7 separate regions of the Homo sapiens genome follow, and regions 2, 3, 4, 5, 6 and 7 are each linked to region 1. The links are contacts of gene promoters, found by promoter capture Hi-C in blood cells and fetal thymus (Javierre and others, 2016). All regions are on one chromosome and are shown on one strand. Each heading gives the region's core, a stretch centred on a gene start or on the middle of the fragment in contact. The rest is flanking DNA. Distances are from core to core; before and after follow the strand shown.

Region 1 (3,675 bases), core at 1,110-3,609:
AAAGAGGATATAAAATGCTATTATAAAATGTTTCCATCTTTTCTATGTAAAGGTTAAAAAAACAATTTTAATTTTTCTTCTTTAACTTCTCATAGTTAATGAACAAATTAACTTTGATTTTTTTCCTAATATTTTTAAGTCCACAGCCAAGTTCTAATAAAGACTCTTAACATGTCACTAGAAATATATAAATTCTAGGTTTAAAATAACTCATGTTTTGCATTTACAGAGGTAAACATTTACTAAGAAGAAAATATTCTGTCTTGGTTATTATTTACTTATTCACTGCCTCTGAACTGATATGAATTAGCTCTGAGAGAGTAAGAGCCGTGTCTGTTTTCTGTCTTCACATTTTTATCAACACTGCCTAGCAAAACTCCCGGGCCTCAGAAAGCTTTTGTTAAATAAATGAATGAAAAATAAATATATCTTTAAAAAACTGGAAACAAAGCTTCCCTGGAACCTCAGCTCACCAGCTCATGGGAAAATTAAGAAGGTATACTGTATCTACAGGTTAAACATTAAAATCTAGAACTTATTTTAAACAATTTCAACAGAATTTTAACTGTTGCATGTTTCCCCGCATTCTTAATGAGATTCATTAAATATGATTCAAGTTTCTTGATATCTTTATTATTTTCATTCGCTACTGTGTGATGTTCACATGACATACATAAGGCTCTATGAACCAGAATTTGCTTTCTGAAAATGTCCTCTATGTCAATCAAGTCTTTGTGTGTATTTTCCCCCGTCCCTCTCAAAAATTAAGTGAAGCACAGCACATCTGTAGGCTACCTGAGAGGTGCAGCGTGGTTGGTTTTCTTCACAGTTGCTAAACGAAAGGCCTACTCTTCTTCAGTGAGATTTTTTTACTCTCTAGAACAGCAGTATCCATAGAAATATAATGGAAGCCACGTAATTTAAAATTTTCCAAAACATTCTCATTTTGACATGTAAGCAATATAAAATTAATGAAATACTTTACATTCTTTTTCTTTTCAGACCACGCTTTAGAAATCTGGTGCATGTTCTACACTTAGAGCAGACCTCAGTTCAGACTAGCCACTTTTCAGGTGGCCAGTGACTACTACACTGGACAGTTGCAGCTCTAGAAAATCCACTCCCAAACCCCTAAGTGAACTACATACTCTATCAATTTGTAGCTTCTACTCTATCTCATTTGTACCATTGTTTCACAATTTGGATAGCATTAGAGTTAATAAATTTTATTTTAGCAACTCTGCTCCATGGGTAGTTTCTGAAATAAAAATACAAGCAAAAAAAAAAAAACTTTCCTAATAACACTGGTTCTACAGTATAAGCTCTCCCTCGAATGTCTAATAGAGCTTTCGTAGAAGTGAGTGTTCCTTGTAGGAACGGTGAGTCGAGACTGGAGGTAAGAACTAAGACGTTCTTAAACCCTACTACGTGCTGGAATCCTGAAGTGCCTGCCATCATTCAAACTTAAGCACTAACTCTCTAGAGAGACACTGCCATTCATACCACAGAACGAGAAGGCAGTGGCGATCCTCAACGGCTACATGTCACTGCCTGGTGAGCACTCTTCCCTCAGACCCCATTCCCAGAAGCTCTGCCTCGATTCCCCAGGGGTAGGCGAGCTGGCTGCCCGAATTCCTAAGCGTTACCGGGGAGATGTGAGGGCCTCCGGGGGCGGGAAACCTCAGGCCAGGCGCGCGCTGGCCCGCTCTACGGGGTCTCTCGGGAGCGCTTTGCAGGGCGGATGACTGACGGGCCAGCTACCTGCCTTCCTGAGCCTGCAGAGATAAACAGCCTATCCTCCCTGTGCACACAGGCCCCGAGGGCGGGCAGGTCTCCAAGCGCAGCACAACTGCCCCAGGCCCGACGCAGCCACCTGCCCGAGGGCTCCCTCCCCACCAGGCCATCCCTCAGCCGGTCCTCCTCCGACAGCGAACAAGGAACCCCGGAGGCGCGGAGGCGTCTCGCCGCCACCCGGCGGCGCCTGCCAGAGGCCCTTCGCGATGTCCGCAAGCAGAGAAAGCCCTGCCCTCCCAAGCCCCGGCTTCCCCTAGGCCCCTCGACACTTGTAGTGTCCTCACTTGCGGCCCCTGACCCGGGGCTGACCGGTTCGTGACTCTCCTGCCAATCAGAGACAGAGTTCTTCCGGCCAACCGGCCAATCACCGCGCGCGGGTGTCCGCTTCGGCTTTTCGGCCCTTCGGCTCTTCGGCTTGTCGGCGTTCGCGGTTGTTTGGCCATCCAGTGCCTTCAGCAGCGCCGCTAAAGCGCAGTTCTCGTTGGTGTAACTTTTTCTTTTTTTTTTCAGCCACTTCCGGCTCCTGCGTCGCTCCGGAAGCCTGCGAGTTCCGGAAGCCTTGGTAATCCAGATTCGGCTAGGAAAAGACAAGCTTTCCAGAGAATGTTTCAGAGAAAGTTACGTGGAGCGTGGGCGTTTCGCAGACTCCTAAGGTCAGTGTCTGCCCTAGAGAGCCGGAGTGCAAACCCGAGGTCTTGTTTTCAGCTGGGAGGTCGTGGAGTTTCACGACCTTGTAATTGTCGCCGTTTGCTTTTTTTTCCCTGTTTATTGGCTTCCTGTCTCCCTGGAAAAGGCAAATCAAAGCTGCTGAATTTTGGGAAAGGCAGTGAAGCAAACCTAAACTCCTAAAGATGTTTTTAGGATCGCGGCATTAAAAATAAACACACACACAGCTGCAGTTGAGCCCCTCTGCATTCCACGTAGTAACTTAAGAGACGAACTTCGAAATCTTTTTCTCTCATTTGGCGGTCGTGAAGATATTTACCTCTTATAAACGGCTTTATAAAGAATTGAGGATCCAAACTTTACTTAATATCTGAAAGTTCATGTAAAGTGTTATATGTAGTACAAAAAATTTGAGTGCTTAGTTTTCTAACACTGTTGAAAGCGCACGTAAATGCAGTTTGGTTTTCTTATGGAGGAAGAGATAATGAAAAGTTTCTGATAAAATTGCTTGCGATAAATTAGTTATATTTCACGTTGACTTTTGATAAGAAATCTGAATGTGAGAATTGTTAACATTTTTTCCTGGGTTCTTAAATTAAAAATCGTTGTTTGTTTATTTATTGAGGTACCATTTTCCAAATTTCCCACATTTAGTGAAAGGGCTTTTGGCAAAATGAGCAAGCTGTTGAACGTTCAAGTCTAACACATTCTGTTAAACTTCCGTGATGCCCCTCGGAAATATTTTATCTTGACGTTTCGGACAATTAAATGATACTTGGGCGCTCACAACACCGCAGCTTGTAGTCTAAACACCTTCCCCTAAAGTGTTACCTTTACTTAATCCTGAACAGAATGAACTTGGGGTGGCTCTTTTAACTTATCTGATCTCACCTATATTATCAATTACTTGTTTCCAGAAAGATTACAGTTGAGTGATCTTGAGCCAGAAAGAGATTTGAAAGAATTATTTACAGAGTCAAAAAAAAAAACCCTTCATATTTTTTTCTTAAAAAAAAAAATAGAAGTAACAGGACATAGAGCGAATACTAGACTAGTAGACTGAAGAGTATTAGACTAAATCAAGACAGTTGGATTCTAGTCCTGACTCTAGTTGCCTTTGTACAATTTTACCTCTTGGCCGTATTCTCCTTATTTTTAGAAACTAGTGTTAGTACTCAAGCTGGGGTTTTAAAACTGTTCCATAGGAGAACTTGT
Region 2 (3,460 bases), core at 914-3,413, 1.5 Mb before region 1:
TATCTATTATCTTTTTATACCTTAATGGAATTTGTAATTTTTACCTAGACACAAAAATACTCAGGATAAAGATACTTCCCTTTGCCTCTCCTCTTAGTTAGCATCTCCCTATGCCTATGTTCTGGACACTAGTGTGTGAGCAGAAGTGACTTGTAGAAGTCCTGGGTTATGTCCCAAAGAGAGGAATGGGTCCTTTTATCCCCATTTCCTCCATCCTGGTGTATTCATTATGGATTTGAAAGGTGGAGAATGATCTTAGATTATGAGGATTAGAATCACATCCTAGGGAGAATGGATTAAAAAGCTGAAGTTGACTCTGTCTTATTCAACACCAGAATCACTGTGCTAGTCTCAAACTGTCTACATGTAAATGCTTAAGTGAGAGAGGAAACAAGTTTTTTTAAAAAAATTTTAAATCTTCATGGTATGAGGCCTAAAATTACTAACACGTCTTAAGACAGTGCTGTCCAATGTGAAATGAATGTTTATCTGAAGGGGTCTTCTGGAGAAATGACACTTCAATCCTAAGAGGGAGCTGCAGAAGAGACACATTTTTTTCCTCTCTCTGTGAACATTATCATAGATTAATGCTTAATATTTTATAACTGGATTAAATTGTAGATAATTTAATCTTTATCATTTTCCATCTAGCTATCTTTATTGAACTATTTCAAAATATGCATATTTATATAAATATAAATATTTGCCTTAATTGTGAATCTTTTAATATTGTATTAGGTTTTATTCATACCTGTTCTAATGGGAAGGCACAATTTCATTTAGATGGATATGTACATTTAGCCTCGAGCATCAAAAGTGTATTTAAATTTTTATCTAGCATAGCCTACTTCCTACATGAAATCAGAATATAAATCATAGAGACCAATTCTTTATGTTTAAAAGCTTGTCAATAGAGCAGAAAAGCATAAATGCATTTGTCAATGAATCCTTCACAGGACACATGGTTTACATCCTGAAGCAATATGGGAATTCGTTACTGTGTTGACAAATGATTGAATAAAATCTGTTTATTGTTTTCTTGCCAAATTTACTAGACCAGGAAAGTTAAAAAAGAAGAAAAAAAGCTACAATTTTATAAATATTGATTAAAAAAAGGAGAGTTTACATATTTCATCAAACATCTTATTATATGCTGATTATCAGTGGTTTTGCCATAATTTAAATTCTTTTTAATTACCTTACAAAATAGGTTTACAAAATTATATTGCCGTTATTATAAATAAGAATCATAAAGACACATAGAGTTAAGTGATATAGCCACAGAGAAAAGATATTCAGTAATAGTATGATTTTGCTGATATTAATTTTTCTCAAATGTGTTGTAGTGTATAGATACACGGTGTTTATTGTTTAGGTACAAGTTTTTTCAAGAGAAACATTTAAAACGTATATTTCAAAAAGTATCAAAATGTATTTATAGATTAAAAAGAAGAAAAGAACGTAAAAAATTAAGGTATCAGTATTGAACATTTTTTAAAAAGCCCTTTACATTTTAAGTGATAGCACGTAGAAATCGTATTACAATTTATAACAAAGAAATAATAACTATATTTGTGATTTTCTTGTAAGTGCAATTTTATAGGAAATAGTTGGCCAAGCACACTTTTGGAAATACAGTATTTGGAGAATTTATCTTTTTACTGGTTTTTTAATAATAAATAGTTTTATTTCAAAATGAGCATCTGGATATTATTTTTTTTTTTAAAAGGACAATACAAAAACTTAGAACATTCCTTTCAGTGTGTTGATCCTAAGACCTTGTTAAGGAGTTCTCAGAGACCTACATATTTTCAACATATTTTATTTAACTGTCCGCCTACATTGAATTAGTCATCTCTTTTTGAAATACTTTATATAGTTTTTAAAGAATTTACATATATTCTATGTTCCAAACACACTGTCTACTGCATTTGGGCTTCTGTGTACATTGGGAAGACACTTTTCAAGTAAGAAGACAAAGACTTTGAAAGGAGACCTATTCCTCTAACTATTGATCTTAAAAAATGTACATTTCTTACAGTATAAACCCATTATGTTTTTATTTTGAATATTTTAGTGTGATAATATACAAGTAACATAAAATTTATCATTTTAATCATTTTCAAATGTACAGTTCTGTAGCATTAAGTACATTCACAATGTTGAGCGACCATCACCATTACCATTTCCAAAACTTTTTCATCACCCCACATAGCAACTCTATACCCATTAAGTAATAACTCTCCTATTCATCTTCCTCCCAGGCTCTTGTACCCAATATTTTATGTCTCTATGAATTTGCATATTCTATATATTTTATTTAATTATACAATATTTGTCCTTTTGTGCCTGATTTATTTCACTTAGCATATTTCATGTTTTCAAGGTTTATTAATGGTGCAGCACATATCAGAACTAATTTCTTTTTATTTCAGAATAATATTCCATCATATTTTCATACTACATTTTGTTCATCTGTTGATGGACGCTTGGGTTGTTTCTACCTTTGGTTATTGTGAGTAATGGTACAAAACATTGATGTAAGAATATCTGTTTGAGTCCTTGTTTGCAACTCTTTGGTGTATAATCTAGGAGCAGAATTGCTGTGTCAAATAGTTATTCCATGTTTTGCTTGTTGAAGAACTGCCAAACTGTTTTCCACAGTGGCTATACCATTTTACATTTCCAATAGCAAAATATGAGGGTTCCAATTTCTCTACCTCCTCGCCATTACTTGCTATTTTCCCTTTCATATTTTATTATAGCCATGCTAGTAGGTGTAAAGTGGTATCTTATTGTGGTTTTTATTTGCATTTACCTAATAATTAATAATGTTGTACATCTTTTCATGTGTTTACTGCTGTTTGTATATTTTCTTTGGAGTTAAAATATTTTAAGTTATTTGCCCATTTTTAATTTTCTTTGTCTTTTCATTGTTGAGTTGTAGGAGTTCTTTATATGTTTTGGATATTGAATCCTCATCAGATATATGACATCAAATATTTTCTCCCATTTTGTAGGTAGTATTTGCACTTTCTTAGTAATGTCCTTTGCCGAACAAAAGTTTTCAATTTTAACAAAGTCAGATTTATGTGTTTTCTTTTGTTGCTTGCATTTTTGAGGTGAGAATTTATTGCCAAAGTTATTGCCAAATCCTAGGTCATAAAGATTTATCCCTATGTATTTTAAAGAATTTTATGGTTTTAGCTTTTATGTTTAGGTTCAAAACTCAGGCCAGAAAAACAGTAGACACTGATTAAAAAAAAAAACTACAAACTGAACCAACAGTTCAGTTTTGAACAGTTTGCATAATTTTGTATATGGTATAAGTTATGGGTACAATTAGAACTTTCAGTACAATGTTAAATAACAGTGGCAAAAGTGGACATCCTTGCCTTGTTCTAATCTAAGGAGAGAAGCTTTCAGTCTTTTACTGTTGTGTATTACTTTGGCTGTGTAG
Region 3 (3,409 bases), core at 700-3,199, 1.5 Mb before region 1:
GATTGTATACCATTCTGTTTAACATTCTATTGCCAGCACCTAGTACAATAAATGCCTGAAATAAGGTACATAATAAATATGTAATAAAAGTCCTAAAGTATCTTGATTAAAATCTATATCTATTTTAAGTACTTGAAGACAGAAATAGATTCAAACTGCAAACGAACATGTGAATAATCAAGTCAGTGTTAATGTAAGTACAAATTATCTGCTGATTAAGATATGGAAAATGTCTCAGCTTTGGAATTACTTTCTGGTAATCCTGAGTTCAGAGTTATGGCAAGGGCATATTTAGAGCATGTTAATATTTACTGAGACATGTGTAAAGGAAGATGTTGAGAAGAGGGCATGTAAGATTTTCTGGGCTCCAAATGAAACCTGACTCATCTGCAAGGACCAACAGGCAAAAGACAGAAATGAGTCCATTGTTCTCCTAGATGAAGCCCACCCTGGTGCACGGAATGAAAGAGAGGAGAGGACCTTGAAGGTCTAGGCTTCAAGGATACTCACTGCACTTGCTCTCACAAGACCAGGCGCTGGACAAATAAGAATGTGGGCACCATTGCTTTGTATTTTTTTTATTTTTATTTTTTCTGAGACAGAGTCGCTCTGTTGCTCTGTCACCCAGGAGTGCAGTGGTGCCATCTCAGCTCACTGCAACCTCTACCTGTCGGGTTCAAGTGGTTCTCATGCCTCAGCCTCCCAAGTAGCTGGGATTACAGGCACACCCTATCATGCCTGGCTAATTTTTTGTATTTAATATTTTTAGTAGAGAAGGGATACCACCACGTTGGCCAGGCTGGTCTTGATCTCCTGGTCTTAAGTGATCTGCCTGCCTTAGCCTCCCAAAGTGCTGGGATTACATAGGTGTGAGCCACTGCGTCCAGCCTGCTTTGTATCTTTAAATACACAGTGACCCGATGCAATAGTAAAATATGGCTCAGTGAATGTTCAATTAAATCTGACCAATCAGAAAAATTTCTTCCTTTTTTTTTTTTTTTTGAGATGGAGTCTTGCTCTGTCACCCAGGCTGGAGTGCAGTGGCACAATCTCAGCTCACTGCAAGCTCCGCCTAGAAAAATTTCTTCTTTCTTAGGGAAGCAGTTATGATAGAAATGAGCAGGGGTGAGCTGGAGTGGGATGAGGGTGCTTTCCTTTGGCTAAAAGCTCTAAATTTGTTTGTTTGTTTGTTTTGTAATTTCAGCCTAATTTACAACCTTACTAAAATTTATGGACTTTTATAAAAGGTAAAATTTTATTAATATTAAATAAGCTTTGAGTGTTGGGGTGAAAAAATACCTAATAATTTTAAGAAAAGGTAGAATTATTGCTGTGAAAATTACTCAAATTGGAAAAATAACTAATAGGTACTAGGCTTAATACCTGGGTGATGAAATAATTTGTACAACAAACCCCCATGACACAAGTTTACCTATATAACAAACCTGCACATGTACCCCTGAACTTAAAAGTTAAAAAGTTACTTGAATTTTATTTGTTCCAAATATGAGACTGCTATTGAATTACAATTATGGTTATTACTAAATTGAAATTCACTTGCTATCTCCATCTGATATTACCACATACTTCATTAGTGAACATTTAAGACTATTCTATTGAAATCTTTACAAGTCCTTAAATTGAACTTCATTATAAATTATAGCACACCATGTCAACCAGCTAGCAGGAATTTGCCATCTCTCCTGCCTTCTTCCCTCTCTCTCCTCCTTCCCTTTCTTTCCACAAAGCAATTAAATGGCCATACAACAAAGAGTAGGGATCCAAACCCTTATATTAACTATAGGGGTGGAGTGTGGAGTCTCAAAACAGACCACCTGGTGTTTAAATCCTATCTGTGTGCTTTATTAGCTGTGTGACTACAGGTACTTTACTCAATTGTTCTGTGCCTCAATTTGCCCATCTGTCAAAAAGGTAATAATAATGCCTACCTTTTAGGGCTGCTGTTAGGAGAAATTCATTTGGTTTTAGAATAGTGCTTAGCACAGACTAAGCACAATAACTGTTATATTATTTTTCACTTCTATGAATATACAAAACATTAACATTTGTATCCTTAGCCTCAAAAGCGAATGATCACTGATGTGAATAGCTGATCAGCTAAATGGAGGAAAAACGCCATTTCTTCAGTTTCTCATTTTGCTTTTTAAACTGAAAACCATAATCACTAATTTCTGGCATTATCGGTTGTCAATAAACAGTCTCAAGCCATGATATTATTTTTGAGAAGGTTCTGAATGTTTGCAATGAAGAGAACTAAGAAAGGGTAGAACATAAACTTTTTGATTTGGCTGATCCCAAGTGAAAGATGAAATTAATGATGAAAAATGTAAAAACTCCGCTGAAAATTCATACAGAAAGAACCTCAAGTACTTACAACATACTTGAAATTCAAATGACAGCAAATGACTAATTCTTAAATCAGGAACTCTTCACTAAAATTAAAAATATAAATGCTTTCTTGTAGGCGGCGAAAGGGTACTTAGTAGGTGTCAGGCTATTTTAAAAAGCAGGTTATAGTGGTGATATTTCAGAAGCATTAACAAACTAAGGCAGATCTTACAAGTGACCTGTTTTCAAAAAATTTTATCCTTAAGAGAAGCTTAGTAGAAATCCATTAAAACTTCCTAATGCAGTTATAGGAGAGAATTCTGTGAATTTCAGTTATCTTTTAACATGATAGATTATATTACTGCATCTTACCATTAGGTTGCCAATTATATAAATCATGTTCTAGTAAGGACCAAAACTTACTACTTAAATTAGAACTAGTAAATGTGTGTGTGTATAATCAAATGATACAATCTCATGTCAGCATTATGTCAATGCAAACTAGACTGGCATATTTAACACAGGTAAATGATCAGCAATGTCAATGTTTATTTTTTAAGCAATGCAACTCTTTAAATGAAGCCATGGTATACTCAAGAGGAGCTGCTGATAGACACAAAGATATGGTGGAAAAAAAAAAGTTTAATTAAATCTAAGAACCTGTTTAACATGTTCATCTTTGGGTTGATGAAAGTAAATAACCCTTACAGATTTTCCTAGTTCAGGATCCAGTGAGGTTTGTAAGTGAATTTATAACTAGAAGCAGACCAGGCATATTTCCATGTTTATGCTTAACTCTTAAACATACCAGTTCCTATAGGATAGAGGGCAGCACTAGATTGGCCATGGCACAAAACAGGCTTGAATTCTTGCTCTAACACTTAGTAATTGTGTATACTGATTAAGAGAGCAAATTACTACATTTCATGAACTTTGAATTCATTGTCTGCAAAATAAGGACAATTCTAGTTCTGCCAACTTTAGAGAGTTGGTATTGTCCAATAAGACAATGACTATAAAAATGCTTTGAAAATTATGTGATAATTTAAAAATATAATTT
Region 4 (3,461 bases), core at 583-3,082, 1.8 Mb before region 1:
CCTGGATTTATGGTGATTGTGATAAAAGGAAGACGGATTTCCTTTTGTGCAAAGTATTGATGGATGCTCTTTTACTTTGTTCCTGGAAAGTTAAAAAAAGAAAAAGGTGCAGGCTATGAACAGTTACATACTTCAATGCTGCTGTCAGGGATTTAAAATAAATAAATAAATAAATAAATAAATAAATAAATAAATAAATCCCCAACCTAGGCGTGTTTCATTATAGAAATCATTTTTAAAACTCACTCCAGTGTCATGTCTGTCCTCCTCCCCACCTCCCACTCTAGGTTCCAGTCAAATGGAAATATGTGGCTTTTCTCACTCCATTCTGTCTCTCTTTTCCATTTGCTTACCCCCTTCGCTTCCTCTTTCATTCTATTTCCTTCTGCTTTCATGAACTTTCTCTTTCACACATATTCACTGATGCATTCCCACTCACCTGTTCTCTCTTACTCTGTCACCCCCCAGTACTTACTGAATGCCAGCCATGGGCTAAAGACCATAGTAAGTGGACGCTGGGCAGGAAGAGAAAGGCCATTGTGGCTGGAGGATAGTGATGTGGTACCACGAAACGTCAGAGAGGGCAGTGGGGCCCAGATCACCAGGGCACTGAGGGCCTGGTACCCAGTGGGAAGTGACCAGAAGGTGGGGCACAAAATAGAATCAGATATCCTGCTGCTCTGAGAAGAATGAAGGGGTTGTGGGCAAAAGTGAAAGCTGGAAGATCCCTTAGACAGTCTCTATAGTCACCTTAGGGTTAATTTTGGAGGTGGGGCAGACAGGACTTGTCTATGGATTTGATGTGGGAAATGAGACCAAAAAAGGAATCAGAGACCCAAGTTTCAGGCTTGAGCAACTCTGTTCTCCCTAGTTCATTGCCATCCTTTTTTTTCCTTTCTCCTTCCCTCCTCTTCCTTGTTCACGCTATAGCAGAATGTGACATACTCCTTACCAGCCCCAAGTTCATTCCTCTTCAAGTGTCAGTTTAGAAGTCACAGACTCCAGGAAACTTTCCTGAAGTCCCCACACTGGGGCAAAGCCACACACGTACTGTCATCTCCCTCCCGGCATCAGTGTGCACATTATTACTTTATTCACAGGAGTTCCAAGCAGGAGTTTCTACAGCCCAAATGCAGCAAGTCTGTGTCTAAGCTCAGTTAGCTAAGTGAAATTTGGAAAGTTACTTAAGGAAGTCTCAGTCCCCACATCTGTAAAGTGCAGATAAGAAAATGGTCTACCTCACACAAAGTTTTGCATGAGATGATATACATAAAATGCTTAGCACAAAACTGGCAGAGAGCAAATGCTAGATAAATGATAGTCGTTATTATTATCGCTGTTGTTACTGGTTTACATTATCCACCTTCATCTAAGCAGGGTTTCTGCAGAATAGCAGAAACCAAACTAATGTAGCAAATAAGCTACATAATTCAAGCCCAGGAAAAAGTTAACATTTCAGTGGCATGCATTCAAGACGAATAGTTTGATTTATTAGCCAATTCAGATAAATGTGCACGTGGAAGTCATAGTTAAATATTATCGTCAGTTTCCACGTCCTGCGTTTAATTTGGGGTTTGATTTTCCAAATACAACACTTACCAGATTAGGTGGACCCACAGGATTATTTTTCCTTGAGGTCTCACCTGAGCAGGTGCATGTACAGCAGACGGAGCAGAAAGAGACTGATTAGAGAGGTTGGAGTGGTAGAGGGCGTGACCCTCTTAATCATTCTTCACTTCCTTTTTTAAAAGACGACTTGGCATCGTCCACCACATCCGCGGCAACGCCTCCTTGGTGTCGTCCGCTTCCAATAACCCAGCTTGCGTCCTGCACACTTGTGGCTTCCGTGCACACATTAACAACTCATGGTTCTAGCTCCCAGTCGCCAAGCGTTGCCAAGGCGTTGAGAGATCATCTGGGAAGTCTTTTACCCAGAATTGCTTTGATTCAGGCCAGCTGGTTTTTCCTGCGGTGATTCGGAAATTCGCGAATTCCTCTGGTCCTCATCCAGGTGCGCGGGAAGCAGGTGCCCAGGAGAGAGGGGATAATGAAGATTCCATGCTGATGATCCCAAAGATTGAACCTGCAGACCAAGCGCAAAGTAGAAACTGAAAGTACACTGCTGGCGGATCCTACGGAAGTTATGGAAAAGGCAAAGCGCAGAGCCACGCCGTAGTGTGTGCCGCCCCCCTTGGGATGGATGAAACTGCAGTCGCGGCGTGGGTAAGAGGAACCAGCTGCAGAGATCACCCTGCCCAACACAGACTCGGCAACTCCGCGGAAGACCAGGGTCCTGGGAGTGACTATGGGCGGTGAGAGCTTGCTCCTGCTCCAGTTGCGGTCATCATGACTACGCCCGCCTCCCGCAGACCATGTTCCATGGTAAGCGCTCTTCTCCCTTGCGCACAAGTTCGCGCGCCCGACGCGCCGGGGCAATCCCAGACGCGCTGGGGGCCCCTGCTCCTAGGCAAGTCCGGGAATAGCCCGGCCTTGCACTTTGGACCTGCGGAGAGCACTGGCTCTCCCATGGGCAGCCAACAGCCGCGCCTGAGTATCCTGGCACATAGCCACTTGAACCTGGGGCGGCTGCTGCCCCTGGCAGGCTGCGAGTAACAGTCCCCAACGCCTGCTTTCTGTCCTGAGAGGGAACGCTGCAGCCTCCGCGCCGCTCAGCGGTGGCAGCCCACAGCCGGTCTCAGAAGCAGCCAAAGGCTCTCTGTCTGGCGCCCTTCCCGTGCTCCTGGCCGCCCCAAGTTACTCACGCAGGCGGCCCGGGTTCGGCGAGTAGCTGGGCTCTTGCAGCTCAGAACTCCCTAGAGAAGTGAAAGCGAAGCTCCCACGGGACGCGCTTTTAAACCCTAGGGGAACAGGTCTCCGGAAAACCCCATTTTTCCCCCCTGAGTAAGACTGGGAGTTTCCGGCAAGGGCTGTACCTTGCGCCTATTGCTGGGAAACCAGTCCTGGGGCTGGCGCTGAGGAAGGCCAGCTTCTGGGTTTTTTTGTTTTTGTTTTTGTTTTTGTTGTTATTTTTTCCTACGGGCGCTTCTTGATGGAGGCAGAATGAAATAGGCGTGACTCTAACTTCCAGACCAGTATTGAGACCTAATATATCTTATTTGTGCAGAATACGGATTTAGAATGGACAGGGACAGAATTCAGGAGGGTTGGATTCGGATGGCAGTCATATATGACCAATGAAAGAGCCAAAAAACTTACTGGAATTAAAAAAGAGGAAAAAGGATTGTGAGGGGAAAAGATCTGCTTAGGAAAATTGGAATGCTTTACAGTAAGTACTTCCTCAAGCAAGAAGACAGCTGGGGGGAGGGTGCGGGAATAGGAAACTGACTGCTCTTTCTTTTGATGGCTACTCCGTTAGATCAAGACTTCTTTCCACTCTCGTGGGTAAAGAATCAAGAATTGACACAACCAAGGAGTGCCAGCTCAGTAACAAAACAAAGATA
Region 5 (3,379 bases), core at 36-2,535, 1.7 Mb before region 1:
AAAAGTGGGCAACCAGCAGCCTTCAGGGCTGCTCTGTCTATGGAGTACCCGTTCTTTCATTCCTTTACTTTCTTAATCAACTTGCTTTTACTTTGCACTGCGAACTCGCCCTAAATTGTTTCCTGTGCAAAATCCAAAAACTCTCTCTTAGTGTCTGGATTGGGACCCTTTTTCTGTAAAATATTTATCTGCCCTGTAACACTAAGAATAAGAAAAAGTAACAAAGTCAAAGTTACTACACTGCAAAAAAAAAAGTCTCCACTAAATGCCTGAACATAGATACTAGAAAAAGAAAATACAAAGAATACATTAGTTTTAGGATTACAAAAGTTAATGTAAGAGTAGTAGTTTGGATTACTAAAGTTAACATAATAGTAATATGCTAATATAAAGTTAACACAAAATAATAGGACAGGTGGTCTGATTTGTGTCCTTCTCCCATACTAATTCTTTTCCTCCCTTCTGGAACTCAAACTTTGCAGTTTTCTTCGCCTAAGATTTTTCTTGAGCTTATCTAGTGTTCTACTACTATTCAGATTTTTTTTTTTAAAGAGTTGTCCATTCATTCATTTATTCAGTTATTCAGTTTAGGGACATTAGAATGGAAGCTGTCTTAAATGACCTCCAATAAGCCAACTGGATAAACATTCTCCCTCCACTATATTAAGCATGATGATTGATGACATCGGTAAACTAAATACTCTTTTTTCTTTTGTATTTTGACAAACACTAAAGAAGGTAGAACTGTCAAACTTTGGGAAAAAATAAAACCTCAAAACTGGATTATTTCGTGTCTTGCAGCCTCTTAGGCTTTCAGTACACAATTAGCAATCAAGTGTTTTACATACTTATTTTCAGTTTTCATTTCAACAACCAAGCACTGTAATTACAGCTCTTAAGTATTTTTAAAAAATGAGGATAGCAGATGACTATCTAGTGGACCCATGTACATATGTTCCTTATTAAGTTATATATGTCAAGTGTATGTGGTGCTTGTTTCCCAACATAATTCAAGTTTCAGGTGTTATAATAACATCATTAAGTTAAATACCACATAAATGAGAGCCAAAAAAGGCACTTTTTTTTTGCTGTGAAATTCAGCTGAACACTCTGAAAAATAATAAATTGATAAGAAAAAAATCATTGAATGTGTGGGCAAGATGTTTTTAAAAGATTACAAAAAAGCCATCATTATTTAAAAGGTGCCTACAGTCAGAAGGACACTTTGGATCATTAATTCCTCACTTTGCTTTAAAGAAACAAACTAGAAATAGTAAGAGGATGCACAGTGGATCATGGCAGAACTTTAATCAGCAGATATACATTCACAGAAAAATTCTGTCTTACATTAAAGTATTAATAAATGTGTATTTGTGTTTGAAGTTAAAATACGTAAGGTACATAGGCATAATTTTTATTATTCCCTATTTAGTTAGCTAACTTTATTAAGATTAGTTAAAAGCGTTTTTATTTGTACTTACTAAGTAGCTAACATATCTTAAGAATGCATAATAAATTTTAGGTGTACTTTTACATTGAAAAAGTCTTTGTCTTTGAAACATCTCAAACATAAATAAGAGCTGACAGAAAAGGATAATTAACTACCATTTACTACTCATCACCCAGCTTCAACAACTCCCAACATTTTAGCTATTTTGTTTCATCTATCCCTGATTTTTTCCTGAAGTACTATAAAGCAAATTACAGACATTATATTATTTTGTATCTGTAAATAATTACTTATTTCTAAGGTATCTGATTTTGTTTTTTTTTTTTTATTTTGTTTGTTTTTGGTAAGAGTCTCGTAAAATGAGGAATACCTTTAAACTTTAACAGAAGAGTTCTGAAGACCAAACTCTGAAGGAAAGAAAGCATTCTGGAAGAATGGCATAGCTGAAATCAAGACCCTTGAACAAAGAATAGTACCCATTAACTCTTCAAAAACTATTCCACGTAAATTCTTCCCATGAGAATTGACCAGAATTATTGAACAATTACAGATCTGTAAAACCATAAAGGTACAAAATCAGTCTACTCACTAATGCTACTGGAAAGAATGTTCTTCCACAAATCTTGCAAGGTAACAATTCTCCAACTTGGACAACACCTCCATTCTCTAAAACAGGAAGGAATTTAATAAATAATTTATATAACTTGAAATTGTGAAACTTCACATTTTAATGTTTTCTCTTAGTTTTATAGGTAAATTATCAGTTTTTGTGAAAAATGTTTTACTGCATTTTGAAATAAGCAAAATTATCTATGAAAAGGAGCATAATACTTAGTTATCAGTGGTGAAAAAGGTCAGGATAAATATGGAGGAGTCATGATTTAAAGATATCCAAACTGATACTGCTGGAAATATCTAGTTTTCTTGTAATTATTTTAAGCAAATCAATTTGTCATATTCTCTTAACTTATAGGCTATCTCTATGGTAAATTACTACATTTTAAGAACAAAATTTATCTTATTAATTTCCAAGGCATGAAGAAATACCATTAGTGATGAGTTCAGTGACTTCCTGAGATGATTTGAAGAATCTAGAATAAAACGAATCTTACTCTGTTTACCACCAAACAATAGAAAGTACAATGCTATAAGATTAAGATCACCTAGTTATGCAAATTACATGTATTATGTGAATTATTATTTTATACATATAATACTTATATTAAGAGTCAGTGGACTAGTAAATGGAGATATTCTGACCTTACAAACAAAATTAAATAAAGAGGTAGCTACAACTTTCACTCAATTATTAATAAAATTAATATAACTATCATGTAACTGAATACAACAAATGTTATTACTAAAAAGAAAAAAAAAGAAACTACAAAAAAAGAAACTGCATTCTTTGTGATTCTGCATAATTCATTTTGTCATTTTATTTTATTTCCAAATATCAAACATAAACTTGTTTTCATAGCTATAATTTCCTAAAAATGATACTTAAACATGTAACATGTTCCCCATAGTTTCTGCTGAATATTTTAGAGATGCTAAAATTCTTTTATCATATGAAAGACAAATAGAAAAACATTTTTCTTTAGAAGTAACAAACTAATTTTAAAAAGTACAATTATATAACTCCATATAACCTGATCCAAGACATTTAGTGAGTTCACAGAGAACTAAACAGGCAAACCAAAATAGATATTGGTAAGAATGCATTCAAATACAGTAACAGAAGAACTGTTTTGTTTTCTCATTTCTTACTCCACTGCCCTACTTGACTGGTGGATAGTGATTACTTTTCATCTCAGATGGAGGCAATGTTGTGTAGTAGCAGTTAAGCAGTCAACACTACAAAAGCAAAGCTAAGATTTGCCTGACTTGTCCTTCTCCAACACCAGGAGCTAAGTTATTTAGGGAGGGCAA
Region 6 (3,312 bases), core at 74-2,573, 1.7 Mb before region 1:
CACTTTAATGCCCTAGGTGGAGAAAGATTTGCAGGTGAGTTTTACCAAACTTTAAGACACAGATAATTTATATTGTGTCCACATTTTCAATAAAATTTAAAAAGAGGAAAAGCTTATAAAAGCTTATAATTAATTTTTTAACATTAGCATAATTCTGACTCCAAGCAATATAAAAGCAATATATGAAAAATTATAGGATTGTCTGTATATTGTATATACAAAAGTCATAAAAAAGATGTTAGCAAACCATATTCAACCAAATTATTATTAAATAAAATCTATACCAAGAATGAAAGTATAGTTTAATATCAGAAAATACATCTGTAAAATTTTAGCTTTTTTCTACTATTTTGTTTAATCAATAAGAACAATTGACAAGCAATGAATTCTGCATTTGAAATATTTATGATACATTCCAGTGACAAGTTTTGTTATTCTTTGTATTGCTGAATTCACCAAAGATAGGTATATATGATTAATGATGGTGGAAAAAAGAGGGTTGGTATTGACAAGGAAATGTGGTTGGTGTCTAGATAATTTGTAGTAATGCTATTTTATTAATTGTACTCCTTCTAAAAAAACAACCAGTTTGGGTGGGGAATGGATAGGCAAAAGATAAAAATGTATTTCTAGTTTTAAAGACAAAATTCCCTCTTGGATGATTCTACATATTTAGGCATTCATATCTTAATTTGAAACACATTTACCTTGTAACTAGCTTTGTGGTGCATCTGACACTGCAGCAGAAGATTGGCAATAGGCCTGGAAAAAGGGATACAGATAGACTGATGTGGGAGAAGGGCTCTGATTTACAAGACCAGAACACAGCATGAATCCACTGGAGGCCTGAATGGTAGTGAACACAGAACAGAGATAGGTGGATCTGCAGAGGCCACTAACTGTTCTGTTGTTCTCAGAAGAGTATTACTGATATATACCTGAGCATATGGCTGTGGAATAAAAACTCTACTCCCCAGTCTTTCTTGCAGCTAAGAAGTCCAGATGACAAAGAATTCATAACTTCCATGTGCATAATTTTTAAGCATCTTTAAAAAAAGAGAGGGTGAGCCATTCTCCTTCTTTTTGTTCTCCTCTGTTGGCTGGCATTTGGGCAGGATGCCTGAGGCTGGAATAGCCATCTTGGACCATAAGGTGACTTTGGGAATAGAGTCCATTCATAGAAGAGGTAAAAGACTGAGGAAGCATGGATCTCTTGCATCTGGACCATCAATCTCTAAATTTATACAAGGGATAGAAATAATTTTATCTTAAGCAATTTTTTTTTGAAAGAAAAGAAGAGGTAAGGGGGATTGTTCTACATTTATAGCCAAACTTAATCCTCGTAAAACAGAGATTTAGATACAGAGGTAAGAAGACAACAAAAACTGTTTTTCCTAGTTTATTTTGTGTTGCTGGGTAACTCTAAAAATTTGCATAGGTATCAATACCCAGAACTGTTTTGAGAAGTTGTGCACTTCAGCTTTGTCCAATTTTGCCTTTTGTCTCCAGGACAGCCAAGTGTTTTCGGATGTATCTTTCCTTTTGGAGGAAAAGAAACAACAAAACAAGAGAAAACTATCAAAAGTCCTTTCCCCCTTACTTCATTATTAATCATAGCAGCTTCCTAGGGCCTTGAAAACTTGCTTTAAAATGCTATGAAATATTACAAATATTATATAATGTTGATGATGATGTCAGGGTATTTATACTAAAGACAAAGAAAAATTATCCTATTATCAAATCACCTAAATAAATATTTTGACACTTATTCTTGGTTTCAAAACCCTTATGGTTCTTCTTAAAGAACCGTATTAATAAAACAACCAGATTATTTGGTTTCTGCAGCTGCCTTTTAATGGAAAGAGCAATATGAGAAGTCACCCTATAAACATATGCTAATTAATAATATAATTGGTTACTTCGTTTTACTTTAAGAAAAATCTCCAGTTTTTATTGTAGATACACATGTAATTAAAGTTATGTGTTATTAGCTATTTATACAAATGCCATGTTTGCAAACATAACATTCTAGAAAAGTTGCTCGCTTGCATTTTTTACATTGAAAATATACCATTTTATGCATTTATGTATTGATTTCTTAGAGTGTATATCAAAAGTATGCACCTGGCATATTGTCTATCTAACAATTGTCTGCTTGACGTTTCTAAGAGGCAGAGTTTTTTAAGCCTATGTACATTTATGTTTCTTAGCAGCTAATGGATAATCAACAAAACAGAAATAAGAATCTCCTCTGGCTCTGTTTTCAAAACATAGTAAAGTTTATGCTTTCATAAGAAAATAAATTCTAGGTACAAAATATTATCTAAAAACATTAGCGTTCCTTAAGTTATATGCAAATTGTTTATATGAATTTATTTATAGAAAATGAATTTAAATATAATTTAAAGGAACACTAATTTTCAAACAGTTTGAATGTTATAAAAGACTATCGTGGTTATCAGTCAGTTTTTCTTTGAAACTTCTTTGAAATTTCTCTAAAAGTAAGAGAGCTCTTAAAGCTTTGCAGTGCCTCTGTTGTTATTATGAATATTAATGGCCATTCAGAAGTGAAGGTTGTTGTTGCCTTTCCAAAATCTCCTGTTCTGGAAGGGATGTTCACCCCTACTATTGAGAATGTTGGCTGATGATCTATAACTTTGCCCTTCTCATAAAGGGTACTGCCATATCTGAGAGGTTAAGACCCTCCTCTCTGATGGGAAGCTCACAGCCAATGACTAACAGGCGGACTCCATTGATTCAGGCTTGCCTGAAGTTGGTCTTCACGTAAGACTACATTCTTGCTTACCTTTCTTCTCCTGCCCTCAGGACCTAACTTGCTGTCCTCACTCAAAGGGAGCTATTTTTAAATAAATAACTTCCACAAGAATCCTGTCAGCTTCTGAGAAAACTGACCTAAGACTCCTTTACAAAGCGATAATAGCACCAATTGAATGGCCTACTGCTACTATTAAATGTTATTCGATCCCATGCCCAGCTATACTTTTGGTCTGAGATGAAAAAATTTGCCCTGACTTTCACTGCTCTCCTGAATTACATTCTTGAAACCAAGAATGTAAAATACTGATGGCAATATGTAAACAGACTGCATTTTACCCCTGGAGATGTCTAAGAGCTCATAGTAAATAAACAGATCATCAACTATCTATTCAGTACCTTTGACAGTAATTCTCTGCATTTTCATAGAACATTATTGTTTTTAAAAGCTTAGTTTAATACTTCAGTCAATGATATTCAATAAATATTTGCTAAATGACTGGATAAATATGAGTGAATGGGTATGGTCTTCAAAAC
Region 7 (3,826 bases), core at 1,126-3,625, 1.5 Mb before region 1:
GACTATCTCTCTTTCCCTAAGGATTTATGAAAATTTGCTTTGGGAATGAAATAAGCATGTATTCATATAAGCCCTTTCCTTCTCTTTTTAAATTAACACTAGCTGTTAACAAGACTGTTCTCTCTCCCCCACCCTCCCGTTTTGCTTCTTTCCCAAATCTCTTCAGGTTTGAGGGTTGAATGTTTAAGGAAAAATGGGACTAAATTTGCTCTCTTTGTAGCTGAGCCAGGGTTTCCGCCTAGCTGTTGAGTCATTTTCCAGTCGGGAGGTTCCTTGACACTAGGGTTCTGTGGAATGGAGTTCCCTCTTTTAACTTGCCTTGCTGTTTGAATTGACCGTCACTTGATACAGGCCAGCTTTACACTATGGATTTGTCCAGCAACCTAAACAGTGCAATTGCACAAGGCCAGGGAAGCACCTTTGCTAAATGAGATGTTTCCATCCATCTATCAGTCCCAAAGTTAGGTGATAATGTAGCCAACAGCTTTCCAACAAAACTTAGTTAGAATTCTTGGTCATAGAATATATGCTCTTTGAAAGCTAGAACAGCTTAATTCATCGCTCTGAGACTCACTTTCATAACATTAGCCCGTTAATATTACCATAGAGCAGGAGATTCTTAATCTGTATAAATGGAATTCTATTCATATACTCCTTTTATACAGATTAAGTATAATGGGAAAAATCTCATTTTTAGTTTCACTAACTTCTAACTGAAATTTAGCATTTAGCATGTCCTTTAAACATAATGTAGGCAACAAACCACAAGAATGTTAGGAGTACCTGGGACTTTGTTTCCAATAGAAACAACAGCTAATTCCTTATTGCTGTTTTTATAGATATCTCTATCACTACACTGATGTTATAATCAAATCATCACTACTTTTTTTATTTAATAGACTATATTTTTCAGCTTTGGTGTCCAGAAAAATTGAAGAAATAATACAGGGTGTTCCCATATATCCCATTCCCAGTGTCTCCTATTGACATCATACAATAGTAAGGTACCTTGGTGTAATTCTGGCATTGCTATAAAGAACTACCTGAGATTGGGTAATTTATAAAGAAGGGCTGGTGGTTCTGTAGGCTGTACAGGAAGCATGATTGGGGAGGTCTCAGGAAACCTATAATCATGGTGGAAGGCAAAGGGGAAGCAGGCAGGGCCTACATGGCTGGAGCAGGAGAAAGAGAAGGGGGAGGTGCTACACACTTTTAAACAACCAGATGTCATGAGAACTCACTACCACCAGAAAGCCAAGGGGGAAGTCCTCCCCCATGATCAAGTCACCTCCCACTAGGCCCCTCCTCCAAAATTGGGGATTACAATTTGACATGAGATTTGGGTAGGGACACAAATCTGAACCATATCATTGGGTTACAATCAATGAATGTATACTGATACATTATTACTAACTATAAATAAAGTCTAACTACATTTAAGTTTCCCTGGTTTTTACCTAATATCCTTAAATCTGTTCCAGGCATCCATCCAGGATACCACACTAAATTTAGTTGTCATGTCCCCTTAAGCTCCTCTTAGCTGTGATAGTTTTTCTTGTTTTTGATGACCTTGACAGTTTTGAGGAGTAGTGGTCAAGTATTTGCTGGAAGGCCTCACTGTTGCAATTTGTCTGATGCTTTTCTTATGATAAGACTGGAGTTGCGAACTATTGGCAGGAGAAAGAAAGAGGTAAAGTCCCTTTTCCTCACATCATATCAAGGTGCTATAGTACCGATGTGATTTATGACTGGTGATGTGTTGACCTTGATTGTCTGGCTGAGGCAGTGTTTGTCAGGTTTCTCTACTGTAACGTTATTGCCCATCCCTTCCATACTGTACTTGTAGGAAGTAACTACATGAAACCCAAACCTAAGGAGTGGGACTTTGGCTCTACCTCCCTGAGGGCAGAGTGTGTACATAAAGTATATGGAATTCTGTACAGGAGAGCTGTCTATTCTCTACCAAGTATTCAATTACTTATTGATATCAATATTATAGACTTATGGAGATGTATTATATTTTATGCCTTTGGTAATAATCAATTACTACTTTATTTTGTTGTTCAATTTGTTCCAGTTTTGCCCATTGGAAGCTCTTTCAGTAGGTTCCTGTGCTCCTTTGACATACCCCCTTTGATGTGTGAGTGTGCGTGTGTGTGTGTATGGCAGGAGCAGCAGGGCTGTTAACAATCCCTTACTTTATGGTATTATAAGTTCCTCCAGTCTCAACTTGTATACTTCCTTCTTCATTCCAAGAATCAGCCATTTCTTCATGGAGCCCTTGTTCCTTTTATGGGAGAATGGTAATACAAATCAAGATCTGGGTCCCAGACACAGTCATTATTGGCAGGTCATTTTGTTTAGGCCTTTCAACTAAGACAGTGAAGAAATATATGTGTATACTTACCCATGCATATATACATAAGTATTTCTATATGTGACCATTCTGTGTCTGTATTAAGCTAAATATGAGCACATACTTATGTTTCCAACTTTAATCCTTTAACACATAGATCATTCTAGCCTCCTCCCTTTGCTTGTCTGTAAATTCCTATTCCAATAGTGAGAATCATGGCTCCCATCATTCACTGTTATAATTGTTCAATTTCAGTGTACATGTAAAGCAGTATAAAAATTGTTAACCCTTTCCCACAATATCACAATTTTTAAGTAAATATATATAACTCTCCTATACTGTGTTTAATGAGTTTAAATGCCCATACCTTTGTATATCATGAATTTTGTTTTTAAATATTTTGATAACAGTATTTTAAACTTCGTAGTTTCCTTTCCAATTCTACGTATTATATTTTATGCATTGAAAAGCATCATTTTAAGAAGAGTTATGTAGGTTGCTTCAGATTGTCAAAGGGAGCCATGGCAAAACTTAGAATACAAACTGTAGACTGTTACTGTGAGGCTATAATGAGATGGCATGAAATTGCCACTCCAGAGCTTCAGGGAGCTGATACTCTGTCAGTGTTATCCTTGCATACTTGGGCAGGCTTCTGTCCCCTTTCTCCTTTGCAAGTTCTAAATACCTTGAATGAGAGAACATGTTCAGCCTTCATAATTTATCATTTAGTTGAAGGATTTGCTAGGTATCTCATGCTGAAGATAAAAGTCCTTATAAAGTAAAGAGGCAGGAGGATGAGAAGGTGAAGAGAACCAGAAGGTTGAGATGACTGTGAAGGTTAGAGATTTTGTAGTTGAACAGACTTGGGCTTGGATCCCCACCACTCACAGCCTGACTTTGTCTTGTTTCTGAGATGAAGACAACAATTGTCTCAAGAGTGAAAGATGTTTGATCTTTTCCTTCAAGTTGCCTGAGGCAGTAGGGATGCAACTGTGGCGACTTGGGACAGTCCCAGAACATGTTTTCTTGACCCCCCAGTGTAGTTTCCATCTGCGAAGCCAGACTCACTGAAGATAGTTTCTTGTGATAATATAGATACATTCATCTATCAAAGTATTCTTATCAGGTACTTTTTATTCATGGAAAGGAATCAGTGTGTTGATGGTGTTAAAGACAACAGTCAAAGACATTAAATGGCAGGATTGAACTGCTTCTGATACTCCAGCACGGTAAGAGGCATAGGGAAACCAGAAAGAAAAGGGGAAAGATATTGGGAAATGTCTTATGTCAACATATAGGGTTTGAATCTGTCTTCTTGGAACTTTACATACAGCAATATGTAATTTTTTTTAACCTATGACTTGTTATTGCACAAATTTTTTTTTAAAAAACCCTAAACTTTGGATCTTGACTTTGAGGTCTGCAATGCTTCCTTTCTGATATTCTCAAATTAGAGATCAAATGGCCTAG

The links. The method cuts DNA at HindIII sites, captures the fragments that hold promoters and counts their contacts. A CHiCAGO score of 5 or more calls a contact.
Region 2: a fragment that was not itself captured here is called in contact with the fragment with the promoter of PEX2 in region 1 in 1 of 17 cell types (total CD4 T cells); the score reaches 6.3 in total CD4 T cells.
Region 3: a contact is called between a fragment that was not itself captured here and the fragment with the promoter of PEX2 in region 1, in 2 of 17 cell types (non-activated CD4 T cells and naive CD8 T cells). The highest score is 7.4, in non-activated CD4 T cells.
Region 4: a contact is called between the fragment with the promoter of IL7 here and the fragment with the promoter of PEX2 in region 1, in 2 of 17 cell types (total B cells and erythroblasts). The highest score is 7.1, in total B cells.
Region 5: a contact is called between a fragment that was not itself captured here and the fragment with the promoter of PEX2 in region 1, in 1 of 17 cell types (non-activated CD4 T cells). The highest score is 6.1, in non-activated CD4 T cells.
Region 6: a fragment that was not itself captured here is called in contact with the fragment with the promoter of PEX2 in region 1 in 1 of 17 cell types (activated CD4 T cells); the score reaches 5.3 in activated CD4 T cells.
Region 7: a fragment that was not itself captured here is called in contact with the fragment with the promoter of PEX2 in region 1 in 5 of 17 cell types (non-activated CD4 T cells, total CD4 T cells, fetal thymus and 2 more); the score reaches 12.6 in non-activated CD4 T cells.

Annotation. Positions count from the first base shown.
Region 1 is chr8:76,998,762-77,002,436 of GRCh38, reverse strand. PEX2 (peroxisomal biogenesis factor 2) reads left to right here and starts at 2,359. Exons shown (of 4, transcript NM_000318.3): 1 at 2,359-2,447. RefSeq lists an enhancer at 2,070-2,364. The HindIII fragment of the contact is 1,935 bases long and covers 454-2,388 here.
Region 2 is chr8:78,490,606-78,494,065 of GRCh38, reverse strand. All of the region lies in intron 2 of LOC105375911 (a long non-coding RNA gene), which reads left to right. Among named protein-coding and RNA genes, the nearest start is that of PKIA, 24 kb to the left of the region's middle. The HindIII fragment of the contact is 2,516 bases long and covers 906-3,421 here.
Region 3 is chr8:78,530,103-78,533,511 of GRCh38, reverse strand. The region is part of intron 1 of PKIA (cAMP-dependent protein kinase inhibitor alpha); the gene reads right to left. All of the region lies in intron 2 of LOC105375911 (a long non-coding RNA gene), which reads left to right. Among named protein-coding and RNA genes, the nearest start is that of PKIA, 15 kb to the right of the region's middle. The HindIII fragment of the contact is 1,347 bases long and covers 1,276-2,622 here.
Region 4 is chr8:78,803,834-78,807,294 of GRCh38, reverse strand. IL7 (interleukin 7) reads left to right here and starts at 1,832. Exons shown (of 6, transcript NM_000880.4): 1 at 1,832-2,382. The coding sequence starts at 2,373. It overlaps MITA1 (metabolism induced tumor activator 1), which reads right to left and starts at 2,823. Exons shown (of 3, transcript XR_002956715.2): 1 at 1,600-2,823. The HindIII fragment of the contact is 3,968 bases long and covers 1-3,461 here.
Region 5 is chr8:78,674,524-78,677,902 of GRCh38, reverse strand. It overlaps ZC2HC1A (zinc finger C2HC-type containing 1A), which reads right to left. Exons shown (of 9, transcript NM_016010.3): 2 at 2,040-2,116. It also overlaps a transcript of IL7 not described here. Among named protein-coding and RNA genes, the nearest start is that of ZC2HC1A, 10 kb to the right of the region's middle. The HindIII fragment of the contact is 4,456 bases long and covers 1-3,379 here.
Region 6 is chr8:78,657,401-78,660,712 of GRCh38, reverse strand. All of the region lies in intron 1 of LOC105375911 (a long non-coding RNA gene), which reads left to right. Among named protein-coding and RNA genes, the nearest start is that of ZC2HC1A, 7.0 kb to the left of the region's middle. The HindIII fragment of the contact is 2,397 bases long and covers 125-2,521 here.
Region 7 is chr8:78,511,679-78,515,504 of GRCh38, reverse strand. All of the region lies in intron 2 of LOC105375911 (a long non-coding RNA gene), which reads left to right. Among named protein-coding and RNA genes, the nearest start is that of PKIA, 2.7 kb to the left of the region's middle. The HindIII fragment of the contact is 5,573 bases long and covers 1-3,826 here.